Regions from separate parts of the Homo sapiens genome. Here all the other regions are linked to region 6. The links are contacts of gene promoters, found by promoter capture Hi-C in blood cells and fetal thymus (Javierre and others, 2016). All regions are on one chromosome and are shown on one strand. The core of a region is centred on a gene start or on the middle of the fragment in contact, and the rest is flanking DNA. Distances in the headings are between cores, read along the strand shown.

What was found. Contacts are between HindIII fragments. The CHiCAGO score rates a contact against its expected background, and 5 or more counts as called.
Region 1: a contact is called between the fragment with the promoter of SLC52A1 here and the fragment with the promoter of LINC01996 in region 6, in 3 of 17 cell types (neutrophils, naive CD8 T cells and naive CD4 T cells). The highest score is 12.0, in neutrophils.
Region 2: a contact is called between a fragment that was not itself captured here and the fragment with the promoter of LINC01996 in region 6, in 1 of 17 cell types (M2 macrophages). The highest score is 5.6, in M2 macrophages.
Region 3: a fragment that was not itself captured here is called in contact with the fragment with the promoter of LINC01996 in region 6 in 1 of 17 cell types (total CD8 T cells); the score reaches 5.2 in total CD8 T cells.
Region 4: a contact is called between the fragment with the promoter of C17orf107 here and the fragment with the promoter of LINC01996 in region 6, in 3 of 17 cell types (neutrophils, erythroblasts and M2 macrophages). The highest score is 6.8, in neutrophils.
Region 5: a fragment that was not itself captured here is called in contact with the fragment with the promoter of LINC01996 in region 6 in 5 of 17 cell types (naive CD8 T cells, naive CD4 T cells, total CD4 T cells and 2 more); the score reaches 7.3 in naive CD8 T cells.

The regions. Positions count from the first base shown.
Region 1 is chr17:5,032,786-5,037,574 of GRCh38, reverse strand. SLC52A1 (solute carrier family 52 member 1) reads left to right here and starts at 2,149. Exons shown (of 5, transcript NM_017986.4): 1 at 2,149-2,714; 2 at 2,862-3,098; 3 at 3,217-4,096; 4 at 4,191-4,314; 5 at 4,406-4,789. The coding sequence starts at 2,969. The coding sequence ends at 4,618. The region is part of intron 3 of LOC105371501 (a long non-coding RNA gene); the gene reads right to left. The HindIII fragment of the contact is 18,376 bases long and covers 1-4,789 here.
Region 2 is chr17:4,245,270-4,250,403 of GRCh38, reverse strand. The region is part of intron 1 of ANKFY1 (ankyrin repeat and FYVE domain containing 1); the gene reads left to right. Among named protein-coding and RNA genes, the nearest start is that of ANKFY1, 16 kb to the left of the region's middle. The HindIII fragment of the contact is 3,375 bases long and covers 695-4,069 here.
Region 3 is chr17:4,154,619-4,159,267 of GRCh38, reverse strand. CYB5D2 (cytochrome b5 domain containing 2) reads right to left here. Exons shown (of 4, transcript NM_144611.4): 3 at 4,408-4,594; 4 at 1,571-2,402. The coding sequence ends at 2,186. It overlaps LOC124903898 (a long non-coding RNA gene), which reads left to right and starts at 3,075. Exons shown (of 3, transcript XR_007065581.1): 1 at 3,075-3,321; 2 at 3,844-3,978; 3 at 4,345-4,431. The HindIII fragment of the contact is 188 bases long and covers 1,596-1,783 here.
Region 4 is chr17:4,898,286-4,900,785 of GRCh38, reverse strand. C17orf107 (chromosome 17 open reading frame 107) reads right to left here and starts at 1,250. Exons shown (of 3, transcript NM_001145536.2): 1 at 958-1,250; 2 at 641-850; 3 at 1-549. The coding sequence starts at 1,023. The coding sequence ends at 253. CHRNE (cholinergic receptor nicotinic epsilon subunit) reads left to right here. Exons shown (of 12, transcript NM_000080.4): 9 at 1,204-1,318; 10 at 1,402-1,588; 11 at 1,679-1,785; 12 at 1,895-2,500. The coding sequence ends at 2,050. RefSeq lists an enhancer at 864-1,173 and silencers at 1,374-1,483, 1,504-1,653. The HindIII fragment of the contact is 47,734 bases long and covers 1-2,500 here.
Region 5 is chr17:4,194,783-4,199,627 of GRCh38, reverse strand. ANKFY1 (ankyrin repeat and FYVE domain containing 1) reads left to right here. Exons shown (of 25, transcript NM_001330063.2): 8 at 2,051-2,255; 9 at 4,157-4,225; 10 at 4,451-4,650. Among named protein-coding and RNA genes, the nearest start is that of CYB5D2, 54 kb to the right of the region's middle. The HindIII fragment of the contact is 8,607 bases long and covers 1-4,845 here.
Region 6 is chr17:4,608,707-4,613,134 of GRCh38, reverse strand. It overlaps LINC01996 (long intergenic non-protein coding RNA 1996), which reads right to left and starts at 2,686. Exons shown (of 2, transcript NR_145431.1): 1 at 2,302-2,686. The HindIII fragment of the contact is 12,447 bases long and covers 1-2,846 here.

The DNA.
Region 1 (4,789 bases), core at 900-3,399, 420 kb before region 6:
TGTGTTCTGATAGTATTTTATTTATGGACACTGAAATTTTTTTTTGTTTGGGGGGGTGGATGGAGTCTCGCTCTGTTGTCTCGACTGGACTGCAGTGGCACAAGCTCAGCTCACTGCAACCTCCACCTCCCTGGTTCAAGCGATTCTCATATCTCAGCCTCCCGAGTAGCTGGGATTACAGGCGCCCGCCACCATACCCAGCTAATTTGTGTATTTTTAGTAGAGACGGGGTTCACCATGTTGGCCAGGCTGGTCTTGAACTCCTGATCTCAGGTGATCAGCCCGCCTCGGCCTCCCAAAGTGTTGGGATTACAGGCGTGAGCCACCACGCCTGGCCTACCGAAATTTAAATTTCATATGCTTTTAGTTTTCACGGGTTAGGAAATACGATTCTTTTGTTTTCTTTGTTTTTTGTTTTGTTTTGGTTTTAGACAGGGTCTCACTGTCACCCAAGCTGGAGTACATTGGCACAATCATGGCTCATTGCAGCCTTGACCTCCTGTGCTCAAGGGATGCTCTCACCTCAGACGCCTGAGTAGCTGGGACTACAGATATTGATTTTTTTTTCCAACCATTTAAAAATGTAAAAACAGCTGGACGTGGTGGCATGTGCTTGTAGTCCCAGCTGCTCAGGAGGCTGAGGTGGGAGGATCCTTGAGCCCAGGTATTTGAGGCTGCAGTGAGCTGTGATTGTGCTACTGCACTTCCTTTTGAGGAAGACACTTTCTCAAAAATAGTAATAAAAATAAATAAATAAATATGTGAAAACCTGTCTTAGCTAGCAGGCCATACAAAAATGGGTAGTAGGTCAGGGTAATCCCTGAGATGGTCAGTGAGTAAACAAGTACAAAATATCATTAAAGGGCCAGACATGGTGGCTCACGCCTGTAATCCCAGCACTTTGGGAGGCTGAGGCGGGCGGATCACCTGAGGTCAGGAGTTCGAGACGAGCCTGGCCAATATGGTGAAACCCCATCTCTACGAAAAATACAAAAATTATCCAGGCGTGGTGGCAGGCGTCTGTAATCCCAGCTACTCGGGAGTCTGAGGCAGGAGAATGGCGTGAACCTGGAAGGTGGAGCTTGCAGTGAGCCGAGATCGCGCCACTGCACTCCAGCCTGGGCGACAGAGCGAGACTCCGTCTCAAAAAAAAAAAAAAAAAAAAAAAAAAGCAAAAATTAGCCAGGTGTGCACACCACGTCCAGCTAATTTTTTTTCAACCATTTAAAAGTGTAAAAACAGCTGGCCAGGCACGGTGGCTCACGCCTGTAATCCCCAACACTTTGGGAGGCCGGGGCAGGTGGATCACCTGAGGTCAGGAGTTCAAGACCAGCCTAGCTAACATGGCGAGACCCTGTGCACTAAAAAGACAAAAATTAGCAGGGCATGGTGGTGGGCGCCTGTAATTCCAGCTACTCGGGAGGCTGAGGCAGGAGAATGGCTTGAACCCGGGAGGCAGAGGCTCGTGCCATTGCACTCCAGCCTGGGCAACAAGAGCAAAACTCCGTCTCAAAAAAAAAAAAAAAAAAAAAAAGTGTAAAAACAGCTGAGCGTGGCGGTAGCTAGGTGTGGTGCGTCTGTAGTCCCAGCTACTTGGGAGGCTGAGGTAGGAAGATTGCTTGAGCCCAGGAGTGCCAAGCCAGCCTGAGCAACATAGTGAGACCTTGTCTCTACCAAAAAAAAAAAAAAAAAAAAAAAAAATTAGCTGGACATGGTGATGCTCGCCTGTGGTCCCAGCTACTTGTGGGGGGGTGGGGAGAGGCTGAGTGGGAGGATCCCTTGAGCTTGGGAGGTTGAGGCTGTAGTGAGCCGCGATCGCGCACCGCTGCGCTCTAGCCTGGGTGACAGAGTGAGACCCCGTCTCAAAATTAATTAATTAATTAAAACAACAAACAACAAAACCCCAGCTGTGTGGGCTCTGGGCTGGGCCGCCTCCCCGGCGGAGGGGGCTCCCTCTCAGGCAGACCGCCAGCCGCTGGGTCCGGGGACTGCCGGATCCGGAGGTGCGGGGACCCCTGCGCACCTGGCGGCTCCCGGGATGCCCCCCTGAGGCAGGCGGGAGGGCAGCACGGAGACGCCCCTCCGGGCAGAGCCCGCCCCAGCCACTCCCCTCTCCAACTCGACCTGCCTCAGCAAGTCCTGAGTGTCGCAAAAGCGCTAGGGTTGCAAGTGGCACCAGAGACGTGCCCTTGTCCCGGGGTCCATTTGAGGGTGAGCGTGTTGGTGCCGAGCTGTTTTTTTGTTTTGTTTTGTTTTGTTTTGTTTTTGAGACCGAATCTCGTTCTGTCGCCCAGGCTGGAATGCAGTGGTGTGATCTTGGCTCACTGCAACCTCCACCTTCCGGGTTCAAGTGAATCTCCTGCCTCAGCCTCCTGAGTAGCTGGGATTACTGGCACCCACCACCACGACCAGCTAATTTTTGTATTTTTAGTAGAGACGGGTTTTCACCATGTTGGCCAGGATGGTCTCAATCTCCTGACCTCAGGCGATCTGCCTTCCTCAGCTTCCCAAAGTGCTGGGATTACAGGTGTGAGCCACCGCACCCGGCCAGTGCTGAGCTGTTTTGACAACTTGGACCCCGGGTCCTCTGTGGGTAGGAAAATCAGCTCCCTCTTTGCTCCTCTGGGGCAGCTGCACCTCGGGCCAGCTTTCTGCCTGTCTGCCTGCCGGCACTGCTGGGTCGCTGTACCCAAACGCACAGCCGGTGCCCCGTGGTAAGTCCTGGCTCCCCACCTTCCCCGCCCGCCCCCGGCCACCTCTCCCTCCAGTTGCCCTGGTCTTAGCAGTCTGACCGACTTGTCTTCTGACTCCGGTTCTGTCCCACCAGCCTATTACCTGCCAGCCTGTCTGTTTCCCTCCAGCTAGAAGGTCTTCAGTTTCCAGAAGAACCAAAGCATCTTTGGACCTACCTAGGGAAGGACCTGCCTGTGACCTTTGCCCTGTCCTGGAGGGTCCAGCTTTGGGCTGAATGGCAGCACCCACGCTGGGCCGTCTGGTGCTGACCCACCTGCTGGTGGCCCTTTTTGGCATGGGCTCCTGGGCTGCTGTGAACGGGATCTGGGTGGAGCTGCCTGTGGTGGTAAAAGACCTTCCAGAGGGTGAGTGGGAGGGAGGTACAGGGAAGCGTGGGGCAGGTATGCCCAGAAAGGTGGCCTGTGGCAGCTCTTTGTCCCTTAGCCACTGTGCTCCTGACATGGCATCATTCCTTCCCTGCAGGTTGGAGCCTCCCCTCATACCTCTCTGTGGTTGTGGCGCTGGGAAACCTGGGTCTGCTGGTGGTGACCCTGTGGAGGCAGCTGGCCCCGGGCAAGGGCGAGCAGGTCCCCATCCAGGTGGTACAGGTGCTGAGTGTAGTGGGCACAGCCCTGCTGGCCCCTCTGTGGCACCACGTGGCCCCAGTGGCAGGGCAGCTCCACTCTGTGGCCTTCCTAACTCTGGCCTTGGTGTTGGCAATGGCCTGTTGTACCTCTAATGTCACTTTCCTGCCCTTCCTGAGCCACCTGCCACCTCCTTTCTTACGGTCTTTCTTCCTGGGTCAGGGTCTCAGTGCCCTACTCCCCTGTGTGCTGGCCCTAGTGCAAGGTGTGGGCCGCCTCGAGTGCCCACCAGCGCCCACCAATGGCACCTCTGGGCCTCCCCTCGACTTCCCTGAGCGTTTTCCTGCCAGCACCTTCTTCTGGGCACTGACTGCCCTTCTGGTCACTTCAGCTGCCGCCTTCCGGGGTCTCCTGTTGCTGTTGCCATCACTACCCTCTGTAACCACAGGGGGCTCAGGGCCTGAACTTCAACTGGGATCCCCAGGAGCAGAGGAGGAAGAGAAGGAGGAAGAAGAGGCTTTGCCATTGCAGGAGCCACCGAGCCAGGCAGCAGGCACCATCCCTGGCCCAGACCCTGAGGCCCATCAGCTGTTCTCAGCCCATGGTGCCTTCCTGCTGGGCCTGATGGCCTTCACCAGTGCCGTGACCAATGGCGTGCTGCCTTCTGTGCAGAGCTTTTCCTGTTTGCCCTATGGGCGCCTGGCCTACCACCTGGCTGTGGTGCTGGGCAGTGCCGCCAACCCCCTTGCCTGCTTCCTGGCCATGGGCGTGCTGTGCAGGTGCAAAAGGGTCCCCAGGCTTGGTGGGTGGAACTTAAGGTTGGGGTCCAGGTCCCAGAACAGCCAGCCCTGAGTCTCTGCTCATCCCCAACAGGTCCCTGGCAGGGCTGGTTGGTCTTTCTCTGCTGGGCATGCTCTTTGGGGCCTACCTGATGGCACTGGCAATCCTGAGCCCCTGCCCACCCCTGGTGGGCACCACTGCAGGGGTGGTCCTTGTGGTGAGCAAGTGGAGACATGAAGTGGGGAGGAGGGTGTCCCCTGGAGCAAGTGCATGTCATGCTCAGCCTGCTGCTGTGTCCTCCCTTGCAGGTGCTGTCGTGGGTGCTGTGTCTGTGTGTGTTCTCATATGTGAAGGTGGCTGCAAGCTCCCTGCTGCATGGTGGGGGTCGGCCGGCATTGCTGGCAGCTGGTGTGGCCATCCAAGTGGGCTCCCTGCTTGGTGCCGGTGCCATGTTCCCTCCCACCAGCATCTACCACGTGTTTCAAAGCAGAAAGGACTGTGTAGACCCCTGTGGCCCCTGAGCCTGGGCAGGTGGGGACCCAACTCCACCCCACCTGTCTTCATCGTGAGGCTGCCACAGTGCCTGACTACTTGTGGCCCAGGCAGGCTTCCCCCAACACAGGAACGCTCATGGACACCTGCACACTCCACAGAAGACGTTGGCATGTGAGGCCAGGGTGGGCACCAAAGAC
Region 2 (5,134 bases), core at 1,133-3,632, 360 kb after region 6:
AAATGCATTATCATAGCCCGTACATTGGTAACCTAGAGCTTTGATAACATGAAATGAAGTAGGAAGAAGACTTTGATTTGAGGAAGATATGAAGTTTGATTTTGGACTTGTCGAGTTTATAGTAGCAGTCAGTCATTCTTTCAGCAGGAGCTGTTGAAGGAAAGAGAGATTTGGGTCCATTTTTATAGCAGTGACAGTAAAGTATGGGTATGCATGAGACCATGTTCAGGGAAGAAAATTTAGAAAAAGTTCAGATGTAGGTCTGCACCTTGCAGCACTGTGCCGTTTTAGAAAGTGGGTAGTCAGAATAGGAGGTGAAGGGTCTGTAACAAGGTTAGGAAGAAAGCTAGAGTACAGAGTTAGGAAGCCAAAACAAGAGTTTTAAGAATGGGGTGGTTGAGAGTCGGAGGCTACAGAGAGGTTGAGGAGCTTGAAGAATAAGGAAAAGGTCATCAAAGTGGGTGATTTGATCATTGTGACTATTTAGTAGAGTGATGTGGGTTGAAGCCAAGTTTCAGAAGGTTAGGGAGGTAAGGCAGGAAGTAGTGACCAAAGAGGACTCTTAAGAAATGGGTGGAGAAGGCAAAGTGTATGATAGACTGCGCAGTCAAGAGCATAACTGTGGAGAAGAGATGTTTGTCTAGGGGTGGGAGGCATTACTGTGAGCCTGTTTCTGAGGGTGAGGAGGTAAGCTTGGAGACAGGCATATCTTGAAGATGCAGTGGCTGCTGTTGTGGATTAGAGTTTGGTAAGAAGTGAGAGGTTACAGAATTCTAGGTGTTCCAGATAGATAAACTGCTTTCTTCCCTTTTCATTTGGCTCTGGCTGTCATTTTAACGTTCTAATTCTTTAAAATCACCAGCAGGGGGACAGGGCTTGTATGGCCTCTCAGCCAAATCTGACCTGAGACCTGTCGACTTGTTTTTATGCAGTCCTTAAGCTAAGAATTTATTTATATGTTATAGATGTAACATATAAAAATAACTTATAAATATTAACTATATTTTAAATATTTTAACCTGGTTGAAGAAAAATCAAAACAATGTATCATGATGTGAAAATTATATGAAATTCCATTTTCAGTGTTCATAAATAAAGTATTTTTAGGGAAACAGCCACATTCATTAATTTGTACTTTTGTGTTCCAACTGGCAGAGTTGAGTAGTGCCCCAGAGACTGTATGGCTCCCAAAGCCTAAAATATTTGCTATGTGGCCCTGTACGGAAAGTATGCCAACTCCTGACCTAGAAGGAAGAGTGTTCTAAAAATCATTCTTGGTTTCTCTTCTGACTGTGCCATATAACTTCTGAAGAGGTAATTTGCTGATTAACTACTTTTTTGCAGTAGACATTGCACTCTTTATTTTAGGCTATTTGTAATGAATGAAGATTTTTTTGTCTTAAGCATGTTTTGTTAACTCAAGAGTGATGAACTATCAGAAAGAATACTTATTGAAAGTCTGATCATAGACTGCACTCATGGAGAACAGATAGGTATTATTTGGAAAGAAATATGAGAAAATTGGAAGTTTCTGGCATTCTTCACTGATACTTAGCGTAGCTTTTTTGGTGAAACTCTAGGTTTTATCTATTATTTAAATTTCTAGGTTTGCTCTCCTCTCCTCTCTCCTCTCCTTTTTTGAGACAGAGTCTTGCTCTGTCACCCAGGCTGGAATGCAGTGGCATCATCTCTGGGACTACAGGCATGCGCCACCATGCCCGGCTAATTAAATTTCTAGGCTTGCTTTTCAAATGAAAGTTGGAAGGGGACAAAGAAAAAACCACGGCTGAAAACTGGTCACTTGATGAAGAATAAGTAGGCAGAGGAGTAGCAGCAGCGGTAAGCCTTACTAAACCAGACACTGTTCCGAGTGATTTAACCTATCCTAATGACTTTACACGTACTTCTCTGACAGTGGTCCCCAATCTTTTTGGCACCAGAGACTGGTTTCGTGGAAGACAGTTTGTCCATAGATGGGGTAGGGAAGGGAGTAGTTTCAGGATGAAACTGTTCCACCTCAGATCATCAGGCACTGGAGTCTCATAAGGAGCATGCAACCTAGATCCCTCGCATGCGCGGTTCACAGGAGGGTTCACGCTCCTGTGAGAATCTAATGCTGCTGCTGATCTCACAGGAGGCGGAGCTCAGGTGGTCATGCTGACTCGCCCGCAGCTCACCTCCTGCTGGGTGTGGCCCAGTTCCTAACATGCCACAAACTAGTACCCGTCCACGGCCTGGAGGTCGGGGACACCTGCTCTAAGATAGTATCATTAGTCTCATTTTCCATGTGAGAAGACTGAAGCACAGAGAGGAAGTAAGTAACTTGCCCAAGGTCACACAGCTAGTAAATGGGTAAGCTGGGGTCAAACCCAGTCAGTGAGACTCTGGAATGCGAGCTCTGGGCTATCAGTGTGCAGGGAGAATCTTGCAACACAGGACTGACTACCCCGGGTTGCCTTTCTAAGAATTGTAATAATAGCTAATATATTTTGACCACCTACTGCAGAGCAGGTTGTATTCTAAGGTTATTACATGTATTAGTACTTTCAGTGTTTACAACATCCTTGCAGGTGAAGAGAATGAGTCACCTGCCTAAGGTGTATCAAAACTAGGCAGTAGTGGGGCTGGGCTTGATCCCAGTCAGTCTGGCCCTAGAACCTGCACACTGTAAATTCTCTCTCCATTTTGCTCAGAATAATGTTGTACTTTTTCTTGTAAGAACTGTACAGCTTGGTGACACTTCAAGGACACATTTGCATTGCTGTTTGTAAGCAGACAGTATTCCCCACGGGCTGGTAATGTCTCAGCCATAAGCACTCCTCCATTATACTGTGAAATGGTATGGCAATTGAAGTAGCGCTGGTAAGTGCTCATAAGCTGCCTGAGTGCATTAGTGATCCTTTGGGTTTCCCCCGACAAAAGCTGCCGGGTGGGGGAGCATCTGTAATTTTGTGACTAAGAGCCCCAAATCATGCTAAAGCCCTCCTTTTATCTAGCTTCTTCTCTGCTCATTACCTTGGTAGTTTATATCTTGTGTCATTGTCCAGGCAGCTGCTACATATTTGAATCAGGAATTCTGTAGAGAGACTGGGGCTGTTGCTGTAGATTTTGGAATTTATGTGTATAACTGATATTTAAGGAAATGTGTATGGTTTCCTAGAGAGCAGAGAGGGGGAAGATGGCTGAAACAGAGCTTTCAGGATCTCCTCCATTTGAAGGCTTAGATAGAGGAATCAGCAACTTTGCAGTCATTTTTTTTTCTTTTTCTTTTTCTCTCTTTTTTTTTTTTAAGACAGGGTCTCTCTCTGTCACCCAGGCTGGAGTCAGTGGTGCGATCTCAGCTCACCACAACCTCTACGTCCTACCAGGCTCAAGCGAGCCTTCTGCCTCAGCCTCCTGAGTAGCTGGGACTACCGGTGCCCACTACCACCCCTGGCTCATTTTTGTATTTTTTTGTAGAGACGGGGTTTCACCATGTTGCCCAGGCTGGTCTCAAACTCATGGGCTTTAGAGATCCTCCTGCCTGGGACCCACAAAGTGCTGGGATTACAGGTGTGAAACACCACACCCAGCCTAGATTGCCCTTTTAACTCTTAAAAGAGGCACCTCCTAATCTGCCAAAATGCTTAATGCATAAATATTTGCAGATCAACAGTTTAAGTGAAATGGAAATGGAAATTCCCCAGCCAGCTATAGTCATGCTGGGTTGGAGGTCTTGAGGAGCAAAAGATTTAGGTTGGCTAGAATATGGTGTGATTGAAACCAAGGTTAGAGGGTTCAGGTTGCTTATGGAAGAAAAGGTTACCACTGTGGAAACTTGGGGGCTGTCTCTTGGCAAGTGGGATATAATTTTGTAGCCACCAGGTTGAACTAGCAAGATGTGGTATATACTATAGCCATCCTTTTCAGCTGACTTGCATAGCATCTGGTGAGTGGCTGATACTATTGTCAGTGAACTCTTGGAGGAGAGGGCGAGGCTTGGGCTCATAATTATTTGTATTTCTCGTAGAGAAATATACTGTGTTTATGTACTTTGTCTGTTTGACAAATCTGTTGACTGATACAAGCTTAAAAGGAGAATCTGACCAAGAAAATAAAAGATCGAAACCTTCTCTTGCATTTTCTGGGTCCAGTATGCTACAAACAAATACAGGCTTTATTTAAATCTTTTGAAGTAAGATACTACTTTTCTGGAACATTTTCTTTACACTAGCTTAAACCAGGAGGTCTCCTGCCACACTCCATTTGTATCCCCTATCAGAGTGCTCTCAGGGTTTACTGCGTTGGCTTAATTGCCTGTCTTCTCTATTACTCATAATTTTTTTTCTTTGGTTGTTTTTTGTTGTTGTTGTTTGTTTTTTGAGACGGACTGTCCTCTGTCACCCAGGCTGGAGTGCAGTGGCACGATCTTGGCTCACTGCAACCTTCACCTCCTGGGTTCCAGCGATTCTTCTGCCTCAGCCTCCTGAGTGGCTGGGACTACAGTTGTGTGCCACCACACCCAGATAATTTTTGTATTTTTAGTAGAGATGGGGTTTCACCATATTGGCCAGACTGATCTTGAACTGACCTCATGATCTGCCCGCCTCAGCCTCCCAAAGTGCTGGGATTACAGGCATGAGCCACCAGACCTGGCTGGTTGTTTTTTTTTTTTTTTTTTTGAGACAGGGTCTTGCTCTGTTGTCCAGGCTGGAGTACAGTGGCACAATCTCGGCTCTTTGCAGCCTGAACCTCCTAGGCTCAAGGGGATCCTCCTGCCTCAGCCTCCCAAGTATGGACACCTCTGGTCCTAGCTACTCTGGAGGCAGAGGCAGGTGGGTCGCTTGAGCCTGGGAGTGCAAGACAACGTAGCCCTGGCAACATAGCAAGGCCCATCTCTCCAAAAAACTTAAAAATTTATAGCCAGGTGTGATGGCACACACTTGTGGTCCCAGGTACTAGGGAGGCTGTCAGGAGGATCACTTGAGCCCAGGAGTTTGAGACCAGGCCTGGCAACATAGTGATACCCCATCTCTACAGAAAGTTTAAAATGTAGCCAGGCATGGTGGTAAGCACCTGTAGTCCTAGCTACTCTCGAGGCTGAGGTGGGAAGATCACTTGAGTTCAGGAGTTTCAGGAGTTTGAGTTCAGGAGT
Region 3 (4,649 bases), core at 440-2,939, 450 kb after region 6:
CTTTGGGAGGACGAGGTGGGTGGATCACAAGGTCAGGATTTCGAGACCAGCCTGACCAACATAGTGAAACCCCATCTCTACTAAGAGTACAAAAATTAGCTGGGTGTAGTGGCACGTGCCTGTAATCCCCAGCTACTTGGGAGGCTGAGGCAGGAGAATCGCTTGAACCCAGGGAGTGGAGGTTGCAGTGAGCCAAGATTGTGCCACCGAGGTTGCAGTGAGCCGAGATCGCGCCACTGTACTCCAGCCTGGGCAAAAGAGCAAGACTCCATCTCAAAAAAAAAAAAAGAAAGAAAGAAAGAAAGAAAGACGGCTCCCAGCAGTGTGGAGGAGGGATTGGAGGGAGGGAGTACAGTTAGGATCCTTCAGTAATCCAAGTGAGAAATGACAGCCTAGGCCAGAGGAAGAGTACTAGGGACAGATAAGAGGGAAGGAAAGGGAGAGAATGAGGGAGGCAGAGGTCCCAGGACCTGCAGGCGGGTTAGGAGGAGGGAAGGGAGGATGGAGTGTGGACGGCTGCTCGGATGCTGACTCTGCGTGTAGCTGGTGGTGCCATTCCCTTGGAGAACTAGAAGCAGCATGGGAGGGGAAGGTGAAATGCTCTGCAAAGCTGCCTGGAGTAGACGTGCAGGTTTGACGGTCTAAGTAACTGTCGGATTTGGAGTGAGAGGAGCCAATGGGAAGGGGTTTGTGGAGGCAAAACGGGGTTCTCAAGGCAATTAAGAAGGAATGGGCAGAGGCAAAAAGGGAAGCAGGATAAAGCCCAGCGAGGGTTTCATGGAGGACCCCACGGTCCACAGTATCCAGAGTGACAAAGCCTAGGTAAGAACTGGATGTGACCACGGAATGTGCCAATGCAGAATTTCTCCTGATTTTTAGAGCAAATGGAGCTGAAAAGCAAAGCTAGTGAGTATAAGCCAAAACTGGAGTTGAGGGAATGTTTATGATGTGAGAGAAGTGAGCTGTTTGATGCATACCTGGGGGAAGATCCAGGAGACGGGGAGAGGTTAAAGGTACAAGAGGGGCAGGTGAGGAGGATGGCGGGGGCAGGCAAAAGGAGCCATGAGCCAGAGCCCAAGTGTAAGGAACAGCTGTGGCCATAGGGGCAATAAGCCCGGGTCTGCCAGTGAGGGGACAGGGGCAGTGAGCACGGGTCTGCCAGTGAGGGGACAGGGGCAGTGAGCACGGGTCTGCCAGTGAAGGGGACAGGGGCAGTGAGTACGGGTCTGCCAGTGAAGGGGAGGCAGCCTCCATTTTCTAGTCTGTGAATCTGGAAAGCGATTTAGTGAAATGAATGATGGAGAAAAAGGAGACAGTGACAGAGAGGGAGGAAGCTGGTGGATGTTGAGGGTGAGACTGAGCGGCAAAGGGAGCTGGGTGGAAGCTCTGATGAGGCGATGCACAGAGGCCGTGGCGCTGTCTGTGGTAGTGCTGGTCCCACTTCTCTGTCTGAAGTAGGAACACTCCTTGCCCCCATCTACCTTCACAAGTAGTCAAGAGGTAACAGGTATGACATTGCCAGATGACGCTGGACATACAAACCACTGGACAAGCAGCAAGCCCAGCCACCTTAAGTTTGAAGCCTTGCCCAAGCTTTAATGTCATGCTAACCAGTTACCTTGTTAGAGCTGGGAAGCCACCTTTTGCTCAAAATGCAGACTTCTGCCTTTGAAAACACACCACACCTGATTTTAAGTGCTTAAAGGACAGAAAATGTCGTTGCTTTAAATTGTTGCTTTGTTCAGAGACATCTGGATTTGCTGTATCCATACAAGCAAAAGCTTTTCCAATTCCAGAATCAACCCACACTAATTTGTTATTGCCTCGTACTGTATTGGCCCAGCTGTAATCAACTCAGCAGGCTTTTGGTTGTAAATTCAAGTGGAAATTGAGTTGGTCTTATTTGTGCCCGTTGATATCTGAGGGCTGTGAGGAAGATGGCCAGTAGGTCAAAGGGAATAGTGTTGAAAAGCTGACCAGTACTGGGCAGGTGGCCGGCTGTCCCTCAGGCACCACAACGCCGAGCCACGGTAAGGGGCATGAGCCACATTTGCAGAATATAGCCAGAGTCCTTCCAGACCCTCCTGATTCGCGCCAGGAGGCATCCCAGGGCACACAAGTGTCAAGGGCCTACTCAGGTGCTTGGCAGAGCTCTCTGTGTGTTATTAACAGAAGAGGCTACGGCTTAGAGTGGAAAGGAGCATGTGATGGCTAGCGGTGGGCAGCCTGTGTACTCTGCCAAGTTTGGGTGGTCCAGGTCCCCACGATTTCTGTGTGGAGGGTTGTCCGGCATCTGGCCACTAGGGGGGCCGGTGGTTCTCACACACACGCAGCGGGGCTCCTTAGCACCTGGCTTATACAGCTTCCTGGGGACGCCAATCCAGTCTCTGCTCACACCTCCACTAAGGATAGACGGAAAGAGGACTTCTTAAATGTGAGAACTCATGAGTCTCTGGGAAGGGGAGAGCAGGAAGCAGAGAGCCAGGCCTTCTGAAAAGTAGAAGCCTACCAGAGTGTTTCCCAAGGCAGCAGGCTACAGCGCTCAGCCCCTGAGCCTTCATGCTCTCTCCTAACATCCTCCAGCTTCCCCTGCAGGGCCACCACCACCTTCCCCAGGCCAAGGGCACAGTCCATGGTTCCTTTCACTGTGCTCCCCAGCCCCTGCCCTGCCCCTTCTTAGGAGGCAGCACCACGTTCCTGCACTGGTGGCAACAGCTGTGAAAGGGCTTCCCCTGCTGGCCTGTGAGCTTCTCAGAAGCAGTGTCTGGGTGCGACTGTCCTCTTCCTTCCCCACTACAACCCAGCGCAGGTCAGGGTCTTCACCTTCTTCTCTGGGGCACTTGGCTGGGGGTGGGCAATTGGGCCCTGGCCCTTGGCCACCTGGGTCGGCCTTCTCTGGGAAGCCCTTGGCATAGAGTGTAGCTGCAAGCTGTCCTGTGCCCCACAGGTCCAGTCCTTGATGGCACTAGGCTTCAGACACGGAGGATTCAGCTGTGGCCCAACAACCTGAGCACCCTCCTATCTTGGGCAGGGGCCTTGCCCACCTCAGGGCACTGGGCTCAGTCTCTGATGGACTCAGAGGCCTTGCAAGAAAGAAACTGAGGTTCTTGGAACTGACGCCTCAGACAGCTTCCGGTGCCTGCTGTCAGAGAAACTGCCCCCAGCGAGAAAACATCCTACTTCTAGCTTACCAAGAACAAGGCTGTCACCCAAACGCCTCCCTCTTCTACCCAGCCTCCATCCCATCATTGGGGATCTGTACTCCACACCTTGTCCCTGCCTTCGGCACTTGTTCCTCTCAGTCTAATGGGACACACACAGGTGAACAGAAGACAACAAACTGAGCTGAGGCACAGGGATAGGGCCCCGCAGTTCACTAGGGTGGCCCTGGAAGGGTTTTGTGGGGAAGGCAGAGCCTGAACTACTCAGTCATGAAAGCAAGAAGAGGTTCAGGAGACACAGGGGAAGGCTGTGGGGAGGGAAAAGGAGGCAGGGCCCAAGGAAGCAAAGTCAAGCATCTGAACGCACGCAGGCCTCCTGGAGTCTCCTCCTCCTGGAGTCTCAGAGACCAGTGCTCTCTGAGGCTACCTGCATTCAGGCCTGTGTCACAGGAAGGCCCACGCCTATCTTAGCTTCTCTCCATAAAGTGAGCAGGCCAGGTTCTCACAGTCCCCTCTTTCTTGAGATGACACTGGAGAAGCTGTCTCTTCAAAGCTAGCGGCCAGGAAAGAAGGAGCTTTCCTTCCTGCTACCTTTGCCCTTGCTCCGCTCATTTAAGGCTGAGAACTCCGAATTTGCAGTGGTTTTTTTTGTTTGTTACTGTTTTTTTGTTATGTTGCCCAGGCTGGACTCCAACTCCTGAGCTCAAGCGACCTGCCTGCCTCAGTCTCCCAAGTAGCCAGGACCACAGGTGTGGCCCACAAGCCACCATGCCCGCCTCACCTGTTTTTAAGACAGCAGTTGAAGCCATCACTGCAGGTACCCTCCCCACCTCCTCGTCCCTCTCCTATAGATAGGCATGATTTGTGCTGTCAAACAGGAAACCAAAGCCCGTGGGTGGCTGAGCAGGCCAAAGAAAGCAAGAAATCCTGCTTGTGCCTTCTCATTCCCGGGTCAAGGTTGTGTCAGCAGGATCTTTGGAGAATTCGGAAAAAATAAAAAGATGCCCAGGCCTCAAGTCCAAGTCTCAACCCATTCAGTTGAGTGGAGTGAGGTCTGACCATCCGTAATTTCGGCAATTCCCCAGAAGATCTAATATGCAGCCAAAGTTGAGAATTATTATCAGTATTTTGAAAAAGCTCCCCAGGGTTAACAATCAATTCCTGAATTCACTGAATACTGCAGGCAGGATGGCCTAGGAGTTGGATTTGGGACAGGCAGAAAGGAGAAGAAGGGGAGCCTGCTTACCTCTTCTGGGAGCACCAGAGCCGGCTGCCCCTGGCTGAGCTCCACTCCGCGTTGCACGGCGGGAATGTCTGCTTCTCTTGCAGCTGTAGTTTGTTGGCCTCCAAGCCTCTGGTGATCGCAGCTTCTACCTGGGTCAGTGCCGGGGTGGGCAGCCCATCCTCTCCGTAGAACCGTCCTGTCACCCTCCCTGTGATGACAGGAAGGCAGATGTGAGTGAGAGTGAATACTCAGCTGCTGAGGCA
Region 4 (2,500 bases), core at 1-2,500, 290 kb before region 6:
CGGAGCCCCCGCGGGGGTGTGGCCAGTGTGAAGGGTGGGGGCGTGGCCAAAACCCAGAGACCCCGGGAAAAGCTCTGGCTGTCTCGCCCCGCCCTGGGCTTTATTCGGACGCTGGGTGGGGCTGGTACGGGGATGGAGTCCCTGGTCCGCCGTCCTCCTCACTGCTGCTGGACGTCACCTGGAGGTCTCCCGAGTAGCTCTCTTGGGGGACAGTCCGGCTCAGTGCCTCCCTAGCCCCGCCGCCTCTGGCCCCTAACTCACCCCGTGTCCTGAGCTCACCGGTTCTCCGGGGATTCCGAGGCCTAGCTGCTGTTGCGACTGTCGCAGGAATGAGGCAGACCCCTGCAGACCCCGTCCACACAGGCATAGCCATGCTCCCTGGACTAGGAGCCGGGCGCTGGCGCCCACCGCAGCCCCAGCTTGCCGAACCCCCTGCCCTGCGGCTTGGGCTACCCGGCTCAGCGCTGCACCCGGATCCCTGCCGTCTGGGGCTGGGCCCGCGCTGCCGTCTAGTCGCCGCGCCTCCTGCTGCAGCCACAGGGCTGAGATCTGCATTGGGGGCACAGGGGTTAGCGGGGAGGCAGAGGTCCTTGTTCCCGCTACCCGATCGCCGCGTATCCTAAGCCCCCCAGTACCCCACCTCTAACAAGGTGGTGCCGAAGCTCACGAGGCTGGCTGTGGCTTCTCTCAACACCAGCCCCAGGGTGGGCTTCGGGGCAGGCAGCATCCCCTGCATCTTCGGTTCGGGTGGCTCCAGGGACTTCAGCTCTCTGAACCTCTGCTCCAGATATTCATGGGCTGCGGCCACGGAGAGTTCCAGGGAAGACAGAAGCGGGGGCTGGAGGGCCACCTGGAGAAGGAGCAGAGCAGTAGAGTAGCAGGGCAGGGGTCACAGGGGCGAACAGGAGACCTACCCAGAAGGTCTCGAGGTGCAGCCCTTGGCGGGCGTAGCCTCACCTCGGTGGAGCTGTGGAAGTGGTAGATCCACATCAGGGTGTCCAGGGAGCTGGGGGTCCCCTTCATGGCCGCCACAAGTGGTAGGACAGGAGAAGGGCTGGGGGACGCGTCTGTCGTCGTGTAGGGGGCGCAGCTGGAGGGCGTAACCAGCCCGTACCAGGAGAAGCCGTGTTTGTGAGGTCAGCGCGCGGCGCCTTCGGTAGCTGGGAGGAGGAACGGTGATGTCATGCCTTCCGGGCTCCTCAGGTTCCTTATTTTCGTCATGGTGGTCGCCACGCTCATTGTCATGAATTGCGTCATCGTGCTCAACGTGTCCCAGCGGACGCCCACCACCCACGCCATGTCCCCGCGGCTGCGCCACGTAAGCGCGGAGGGGGCGGTGCAGCCCGGGTCGGGGTGGGGCTTCGTACTAACCTCGTCCCCTAAGCCCCGCCCCTGCCCCAGGTTCTCCTGGAGCTGCTGCCGCGCCTCCTGGGCTCCCCGCCGCCGCCCGAGGCCCCCCGGGCCGCCTCGCCCCCAAGGCGGGCGTCGTCGGTGGGCTTATTGCTCCGCGCGGAGGAGCTGATACTGAAAAAGCCACGGAGCGAGCTCGTGTTTGAGGGGCAGAGGCACCGGCAGGGGACCTGGACGGGTGAGCACAGTGGCCCTGGCCCGGGGGGCCGCGCGGGGTGCCTGCCAGGGGGGAGGCTCCTAAGGCCCACCCCGGTGTTTTCCCCGCCAGCTGCCTTCTGCCAGAGCCTGGGCGCCGCCGCCCCCGAGGTCCGCTGCTGTGTGGATGCCGTGAACTTCGTGGCCGAGAGCACGAGAGATCAGGAGGCCACCGGCGAGGTGGGACAGGAGCCAGAGGCGGGTGGAGCGAGGCAGAGGCCCACCACTGTCTCCCATGCCGCTGGCTCCTGCAGCTGCCTCTTTACTGACTGTGCCGACCCTTCCCCAGGAAGTGTCCGACTGGGTGCGCATGGGGAATGCCCTTGACAACATCTGCTTCTGGGCCGCTCTGGTGCTCTTCAGCGTGGGCTCCAGCCTCATCTTCCTCGGGGCCTACTTCAACCGAGTGCCTGATCTCCCCTACGCGCCGTGTATCCAGCCTTAGCTCGCACCGACTTCAATTTCCCACCCATCTCCAGTAGGAAATTGATTTTGAAAAAGTAGGCTGCCGCCACCACGGCATTATGATCCCTTCCCCCTGCTGATCAATCTGCAGTTTGTGAACTTCACAAGAATGGTGTGTGCCCGTTCCCTGGCGTGTGTAGGCCTGGCCGCAGTCCAGGGGTCAGCAGGAGGAAAGGGTTCACATAGGCTCTCAGGTGCCAGTCTTCCAGAAAGCAAGGACTGCCCTTCATTCAGCCTTGCTGACCTCCCAGCCTTTCTAAGGCTCAGCCCCACGGGACTCTGGTGGCTGCCAGCTTGTGAGCTATCTATCTATATTCATTTCATAGCCAAACAGGAGACCCCTTTGCAGGACTTGCACACAGGGAGGCTGTAGCCAGGAAACCCTCTTCTTCCCTGGTCTGGCTCTGCTGGAGCGGGTGGGAACCAAACA
Region 5 (4,845 bases), core at 941-3,440, 410 kb after region 6:
TTTCACAAATGTGTACCATTAACATTTTCATCTTAATTCTTGGCCTTTTGTCAACATGTCAAGGTAGTTTTTTTCACTCCTACAGAGCATAAATAGTCAAAGATGGTAAATGAAACTATTAAAATTAATGAATTTTGGCCAGACACAGTGGCTTATGCCTGTAATCCCAGCACTTTGGGAGGCTGAGACAGGTGGATCCCTTCAGCCCAGGGGTTGGAGACCAGCCTGGGCAACATGGTGAAACCCCATCTCTACTAAAAATATAAAAAATAAGCCAGGCATGGTGGCATGCGTGCCTGTAGTCTCAGCTATTCAGGAGACTGAGTTAGGAGAATCCTCTGAGCCAAGAAGTTGAGTCTGCAATGAGCCGTGATCGTGCCAGTGCACCAGCCTGGGTGGCGGGGGTGAGACTCTGTCTCAAAAAATAAGAAGAAGAATGGTTTTTCTGTAAGTTACTCAGCCTTTGTTGAGTCAGGATCTCTCTCTGTCACCCAGGCTAGAGTGCAGTGGCACAGTCATAGCCCACTGCAGTCTCGAACTCTGGGGCTCAAGCGATCCTCCCACCTCATCCTCCTGAGTAGCTGGAACCACAGCTGTTGTCACCGCTCCTTGCTAAGTTTTTTTTTGTAGAGATGGGGTCTCCCCATGTTGCCAGGCTGGTCTTGAACTCTTGGGCTCAAGTGATCCTCCCACCTCGGCCTTCCAAAGACCTGGGATGTTATTCAGTCTTAATTTGATATCTGTAAATTGTCCTAGGTAGACTCTTATCTGTAATACTCCAAGAGGTAAGTCAATGGAAGGGATTTAGAAAGAAATTTTGTTTCCACAACAAGGTTATTTACCATGTGAAATTTTTGTAAATAGTAATGTGTACAGATACTCTGTTCAAATATTTCATTGTAAACTTCTTATTAAGTCAGTTATGTGTATATAATGAGATTACAAAACTAAAAAGAGGCCGGGCACGGTGGCTCACATCTGTAATCCCAGCATTTTGGGAGGCCGAGGCAGGTGGTTTTCCTGAGCTCAGGAGTTTGAGACCAGCCTGTACATCATGGTGAAACCCCGTCCCTACTAAAATACAAAAAATTAGCCAGGTGTGGTGGCACATGCCTATAGTCCCAGCTGCTTGGGAGGCTGAGACATGAGAATTGCTTGAATTTCGGAGGCGGAAGTTGCAGTGAGCTGAGATTGCACCACGGCACTCCAGCCTGGGTGACAGAGCAAGGCTCTGTCTGAAAAAAAAAAAAATCTAAAAAGAAAATAAATTTTATAATAATAAAACAGACATGGGATTACTCTGAGTAGGAACGTGAATGCAAGTACAGCAGAATGGGGGTAGGTGTTGCTTAGTTAGGTACAAGCTGTGGTCAGGAAATAAGAAAGAAAGAGAAAGAGAGAGAGAAATTGTGTAGGGAGGGATCCTGGAAACCCTTCTGAGAGATGACCGAAGGAGGCCTTTGAAGAGTAGAAGCCTAGTGTTCTTTTTTTTTTTTTTAAGACGGAGTTTTGCTCTTAATCCCCAGGCTGGAGTGCAATGATGTGGTCTCAGCTCACCGCAACCTCCACCCCCTGGGTTCAAGCGAATCTCGTGCCTCAGCCTCCCAAGTAGCTGGGATTACAGGCGTGCACCACCACGCCCGGCTAGTTTTGTATTTGTAGTAGAGACGGGGTTTTTCCCTGTTGGTCAGGCTGGTCTCCAACTCCCGACCCCAGGTGATCCGCCCACCTCGGCCTCCCAAAGTGTTGGGACGACAGGCATGAGCCACTGCGCCTGGCCCAGCCTAGTATTCTTAAACAGTGAAAGGATACTGAGGTGAGGAGGCAGGACAAGTGGTAACAGGTAACCAAAAATTGAGCAGAGCCTTTTGAATTCGTCTGTAACTCCATGATCTCAATGAGTTTCCACTTACAGATGCCCCAAGAGGTTCCTTCAGACACATCTAGTTATCGCTCTCCTTTGTCTGCAGTCATTTTCTGCTCCCTCTTGAAGAAGCACTGGCCAGAATACTTTGCCCTGACACTGTTTCTTCTATTATTTCTTTTCAAGGAGATCTCTTTGCTGCCACTTTCCTCATTAAGAATGGGGCCTTTGTCAACGCTGCTACACTGGGTGCCCAGGAGACACCACTGCACCTTGTGGCCTTGTACAGTTCAAAGAAACACTCAGCAGATGTGATGTCTGAGATGGCGCAGATTGCAGAGGCCCTTCTGCAGGCTGGTGCCAACCCCAACATGCAGGACAGCAAGGGGAGGTAAGCTGGGGAGCAGACACTGTGCCCTTAGCACTGTTCTCAGAAGATATCTTACAGTAGCATGTAATTGGCATACGGGGAGTTCATGTTCTTTAGTTTGGCATTATTCAGTCTTATTTTCATTAAAGTCACAGACATCGATGTGTAGTAGTAGTGTCACTACTAAAACCAGAGGCATTTGGGGAAAACATTTCTATCCTGGGTAACTGAAGTCTTCGAGGTTTTTTTTGTGTGTTGTTTGTTTGTTTTTAATTGTGTCAGCATCTCACTCTGTCACCCAGGCTGGAGCGCAGTGGTATGATCTTGGCTCACTGCAGCCTCTACCTCCTGAGCACAGGTGATCCTCTCACCTCAGCCTCCTGAGTAGGTGAGACTACAGGCACACGCCACCCCACTTGGCTGATTTTTGTATTTTGGTGGAGACAGGGTTTTGCCATGTTGTCCAGGCTGGCCTCGAACTCCTGAGCTCAAGCAATCTGCCCACCTCGGTCTCCCAAAGTGCTGGGATTACGGGCGTGAGCCAGTTTTCGAGCTTTTAAGCAATTTGTATCTCATGTTTGAAGGAACCAGAGTGGTCATCTAGTCCAGTGCCTCCAAGGAAACCTTGTAGCATTTCTTAGAGTTGCTTGGATAGTTTGAAGAACTATTGAGGTCTAATTGTTAGAAAATTCTAATTGTTAGAAAATTCTCTATATTAAACCCAATTTTACCTTCTCGTAAACACTCCCACTTTATCTGCACAGCTTGCTACCTTTGTCCATAGCACGGCCCTTTGCATATTTAACAATATTTATTGTGTTCATTTTGCCCCTTTCCAGAAATAGTTGAGGATTCCTTGTGGTAGGATCTGAGAAAAGGCTACTTGTCTTGGGACAGTGGTGTGAGGGGCTGTGAAGGATAGTTAAGTCACCTGAATCACTGACCACAGTTGGGACCCGCTTGTCATTAGAACATTCTCAGTATTTTATACCTTTGAAAAACCTCTCAAAAAAAAGATTTTTTGTAAAGTTTGGTTGTCAGACAGGAGAATGTATTTATGTGATAGATAAGTACGTAAATAAGATGTAGCTTCATGAAATCTCAGTATCATGTGATAATTACCTTATTTCCTAAAATAATTGCATCCCTTTCCCTGCTGTTGATTCTTTCATTTTTTTCCTCCAACGGCAATAAACTCGCAGTGTGTGTGTGTGTGTGTGTGTGTGTGTGTGTGTGTGTGTGTGTGTGTAGTAGATGCAGCCTTGGGCTCTGACTCAAAGTGTGTGTTTTTGGGGGGAGGTGGGGGGCGGGGTAGGTGCAGCCTTGGGCCCTGACTCACTGTGTGGGTGGGGGGTGGTGGGGGGGGTGGGTGGGTAGGTGCAGCCTTGGGCCCTGACTCGGGGGTGTGTGTGTGTGTGTGTTAGTGGTGGCTCTGCAGTGCCAGTCTCCTGCAGGGCTCCCGAGTGCTAAATGAAAGCAGTGAAAGGGGTTAAATGCCGCTTTCATCAGTTCTTTCCTGTTGCTGCTCTGAGTGTGTTTGAGAAGAATAGAAGATTATGGGGGAGAGTTTCCTTTTAGAATTGATGGAGAAGAGATGAGGGAAAATCTGCACACCTGTGGCAGAAACTGCTGTTCTCAAGAAAATCCTGTCTGTGCCTTCAGGAAGGGGTTGGGATTGAGTTGGGGAGTATTTGAGATCACTTCCTTGAGCTGATTCTTGTCCATTTTGGCCGCTGAATAATGGTCACATATAAGCAGATCCGTTTTCAGGTTTTGATACTGGGTCATGGTTTTAGAAGCCTTGTAGAAATGTGGGATTTCTTGCGGGTGGTGATTCTGCCTGGGATTCTGGTTGCGTCTTGCCGTGAGTCATCCTGAACAGGCCTGTCCTGAACTGACCCCTCTTCTTTTGGATCCCGCAGGACTCCTTTACATGTGTCCATCATGGCCGGGAATGAATATGTGTTCAGTCAGCTGCTGCAGTGCAAACAGTACGTAGGGAGACACGCACAAGTGAGAAGGCGGTTGTGAGGGGGGATTGTGAGTGAAAAATCATTCTTTTTAAACATCTTTAGTGTTGCATATATTAAGAAGTTAAAGTGAGCTAAAAAAAAATGTGTCATTGAAAAAGGGTAAAGAGAAAGAACCAGGTTGTTGTCAGTATAGAGTGTCTCAAAAAGATTGTATGTGCTGTTGACACTGCTTCTGCTTTTCAGACTAGATTTAGAACTCAAAGACCACGAGGGCAGCACGGCTCTGTGGCTGGCAGTGCAGCATATCACAGTGTCTTCTGACCAGTCTGTGAACCCCTTCGAAGATGTCCCCGTGGTAAATGGGACTTCATTTGATGAGAACAGCTTTGCAGCCAGACTCATCCAGCGCGGCAGCCACACAGACGCACCTGACACGGCGACAGGTAAAGCACGTGCCTCCCGAAGGGGCGACGCTGGGGTCTGCAGGCGCCAGGAAATGGCATGTAAATGCCTTCACCCCAAATTTAGAAACTGAACGGCATACTATGAGGATAATTATTTTGTACTTAATTTTATATACAGTAAAAGCCTGGGTTGTCATTTTTAAAAATCCTGTGCTTCAAACAATTGAGCAGACA
Region 6 (4,428 bases), core at 1,437-3,936:
TTTAGTAGAGACAGGGTTTCGCTATGTTGGCCAGGCTGGTCTTGAACTCCTGGCCTCAAGTGATCCGCCTGCCTCGGCCTCCCAGAGTGCTGGGATTACAGGCGTGAGCCACCGTGCCCAGCCTCAAGTAACTTTTGAATCCAGCACCCTGTGCACCCTTAGGGAATATACCCAAAGGTGGGGAAAGGGGCTGAAGGGAAATCCCAAACCTTACTTGGTGGGTTTGTTGTTGGCAGTGACATCAGTTTAAGAATTCGGAAACTACTGTTTCAGAATTTGGACATTGCGGTACAGAAGAAATCCGTAAGTGTATTGAAATTGTTGGGAATCAGGATGGTTTGAAAAAAGGAAAAATAGGGACTAATGTACAGATGAGGCCTGTGGTGCTGAATTGAAGCTGGAGGTTTCAGTATACTTGCAGGCTCTTCTAAAACATCTTAGCTCTGTTCACTGCAAGGGCCTAGAAGCAGGACACCCAGCAAAACCGGCACACCAAGTCCCTGGACCTTCATTGGGAAATAAAAATTCTCCACCACAAGAGACCAGGATCTGAATAAATGACTGATTCCACAGTTGGGGCAAGGAAAGTAAAAGGTCAGTCTGGAGCGCCTTGTGCCAGAAAGCAAGAATGTGCCCAAAGGCCGGGCACGGTGGCTCACGCCTGTAATCCCAGCACTTTGGGAGGCCGAGGTGGGCAGATCACCTGAGGTCAGGAGTTCAAGACCAGCCTGGCCAACATGGTGAAACCCCGTCTCTACTAAAAATATAAAAATTAGCCAGGCGTGGTGGCTTATGCCTGTAGTTCCAGCTACTCAGGAGGCTGAGGCACGAGAATCGCTTGAACCTGGGAGGTGGAGGTTGTAGTGAGCTGAGATCACGCCACTGCACTCCAGCCTGGGCAACAGAGTGAGACTCTGTCTCAAAAAAGTAAAAGAAAATAAAATGCTCAAAGAACCATGGGAATATGGCAAAAAGACACAAGAGCTGTCTTCTCCCTCTGAACAGTTTGAGCATCAAAAAAAATTATAACAGTAAGCGATTACAACACATTGAATTAAAAAAAAAAATCCATGGGCCTCCAGGAACACTCAAAAACTGAGTTGGAGGGAGGGAAAGACTTTCTTTACAGAAGAATGCCAGCCAGTAAACATCAAAGAAATATATGTTTTTTTTTTTTTTGAGATGGAGTCTCGCTCTGTCGCCCAGGCTGGAGTGCAGTGGCACGATCTCCGCTCACTGCAAGCTCCTCCCGGGTTCACGCCATTCTCCTGCCTCAGCCTCCTGAGTAGCTGGGACTACAGGCGCCCGCCACCACGCCCAGCTAATTTTTTGTATTTTTAGTAGAGACGGGGGTTTCACCGTACTAGCCAGGATGGTCTCGATCCCCTGACCTCGTGATTCGTCTGCCTCGGCCTCCCAAAGTGCTGGGATTACAGGCGTGAGCCACCGCGCCCGGCCAGAAATACAATTTTTTGAGACAGAGTTTCACTCTTGTTGCCCAGGCTGGAGTGCAATGGCTCAATCTCGGCTCACTGCAACCTCAACCAAATTGAGGTAAAACACTCAATTTGGACATCCACAGACTCCCCAAAGTCCTGGGCTATGAACCCTAATGTAGAAGAAGGAGCATAGAGCTTAGGTCACAGCACATAGGAGCAACAAGCCGAGGAGAGGAGGCTCTAATGAACAGAGGAGGGAAAGCAACAGCCAGAGAGGAGGGCAAGCCAGGAAGAGCCTCGGCAGCACAAATGCCACTCAGTCTGCAAACCAGATAAGGACGCTTGCACTGGGAGTGATTAAAACTCAGATCCCCGGCCGGGCGCAGTGGCTCATGCCTGTAATCCCAGCACTTTGGGAGGCCAAGGCAGGCGGATCACTTGAGGTCAGGAGTTCGAGACCAGCCTGACCAACATGGTGAAACCCCGTCTGTACTAAAAATACAAAAATTAGCCTGGCATGGTGGCGGGCGCCTGTACATCCAGCTACACAGGAGGCTGAGGCACGAGAATCGCTTGAACCTGGGAGGTGGAGGTTGCAGTGAGCCAAGATTGTGCCACTGCACTCCAGCCTGGGTGACAGAGTGAGACTCCGTCTCAAAAAAAACAAAAACAAACAAAAAATCAGAACCCTAAAGATCGATTTTATATCCACCTACGTGACAGTAAGAAAGCTGGATCAACTTCAGGAATGAAGGTGGACAGTCAAGACCTACGGTAACACTGTCTGGTGTCTCTCTGGTGCCACCACCCACATCACCTGCCTCTGGTTCAGGGCCCCTTCCCAGCTTGTCATCCCACCTACCTGGACCTTGTCCCTCCAGTGAAGGCTGCCCGGATGCCTCAGAGAGCACAGCCTTCTTAGCTTCATTCTTCCGGAGTGCTTTTCCTTATTTGGTGCTTTCTAGGGAGTAGGCAGGTCAGGTCTTAGGGATTTTTCTTTCTTTCTTTCTTTCTTTTTTGAGACAGGGTCTCACTCTATCTCCAGGCAGTGGCACAACCATCGCTCACTGATGCCTTGACCTCCCAGGCTCAAGCCATCCTCCCGCCTTGGCCTTCCAAGTAATGGGGACTACAAGCATGTGTCACTACACCTGGCTAATTTTAAAACTTTCTGTAGAGACAGAGTCTCACTCTGTTGCCCAGGCTGGTCTCAAACTCCAGAGCTCAAATATTTGTCCTGTCTCGGCCTCCCAAAGTGCTAGGACTACAGGCATGAGCCACCGCGCCCAGCCTAGGAATTTTTAAGGTGTTCTTTCAAAAGACTATGAGGGCTGTTTGGTATCAAAGCAAGTCCAAGAACCAAGAGATAAGAGATCAAAAGCTCTAAAAGCAAACCCAATCCAAGCTTTAAAAGTGAGAGAGATAAGATGGCTCAGAAATAATCATACTGGGTCCATTTATCAGGTGGTTGGGAGAGCACAGCTAACAGAGGGAGAAAAAATAAATCAAGTGGGCCACGTCCACAGGCGTAATCAACTCATCAGAATGAGTTGGTCACCTGTCACCAGCTAGAAAAACCCAAGCCAGAGTTGGTTCTGCTGGACTGGTAAGATGTCCCACCCCAAACTGACCAACTGAATCAGCATTTCTAGTCTTCTGTGCAATTGCCTGCAGTCGTATAGACCCGGTCATGATGGCAGAGAATAAAATCTTCTCTCACACCGGTCTCCAGTTACAGAGTTCTGATCACTGCAACCGGGAAAGCTGAGAACTCTTCATCATCTAGCACATTTGCGAAATTCATTGGCTTTAACAAACTGTTCCCCAAACACCTGGCCTGTGCGGTCTCCTCTCACCAGCATGTGCTCTGTCATATTCAGAAAGTGCTTATAGGCTCTCGCTTGCCTTGAAAAATATCCATCAGCTATCAGAAAAGCTAAAACCCATCGTGGCTCTGGTGAAACGTTCACTTCAGGGAAACACACAAGCCAATTTGGTCCGACTTAATAAGTTTAACAAAATCCAGGTGAAGGAATCTATCTGGAAAAACAGAAGACTCTTATGAGCAGCTCCAAGAAATAATTCTCTCGGGAAAGGGGAAAAAAGATGTGAATTCCTCCATACCAGGGTAGAAAGCAAGATGAAATTGGGTCTCACAAATGGGGAACATTCACGTAACCCCGACCTAAAACGGTGGTTTCCAAATATCTTAGGATTGTGAGACCTTCCTGGATTTTCTTCTCATGCTTTGTCTTAGAGGTAAAATCATGTTTGAAACTCACAAACTGTCTTATGATCTCTCACCCCCCACCCCCAACAAAGACCACAGACAAGAACATCATGGAACCAACTTTAAAAACTCGAGTCTGTCTCATTCTGAATGTGAGACATGAGGGACACCATTCCTAAAGTTTAAAAGAAATTGTTCTGCATTCTGGCAGGATCTGCTCTGTTTCATGCGCAGAGCGTACGGCCATGTCTGCAACTCGGGAGAGCTCCATTTAACGTGTGCGAGGACTCAGTAACATATAGCCATGCTTTTTACAGAGCCCTTGTGTTCCCAGATTGGCTTCAGGTTTGAAACCCTAACCTTCAGTTATGTGTCCTGTTAATAATAGGTCTCACCTCCCCAAGCGTACAAGAGACGAGAGAGCTAGCAAGGGAATGGTTTCCAGAGTGGGAGAATCCGAGAGAGAGGGCAAGACTGCAGCCTGGACCAACCAATCCATGGAGAATACTGCTCACCCACCTGCAGGCTCTGCCATGTTCCTCCTGACACCCCCAGGGATCTCCTGCCCACCCCCCAATATACCACCCAAGGGACACGTGGGACCCCACAAAGGCACACAGGCACTGGTGTTGAGAGCCGGCTGCATGAGGTGAAGACACAGATCCGCTCCTTAAAGGGAAGGTTTAGAAGTGCATGGCTAAAATCCAACCCAATTATACAATGATTCTTGGCTGAGAATAAGCTAATGGCTGGAGCTCT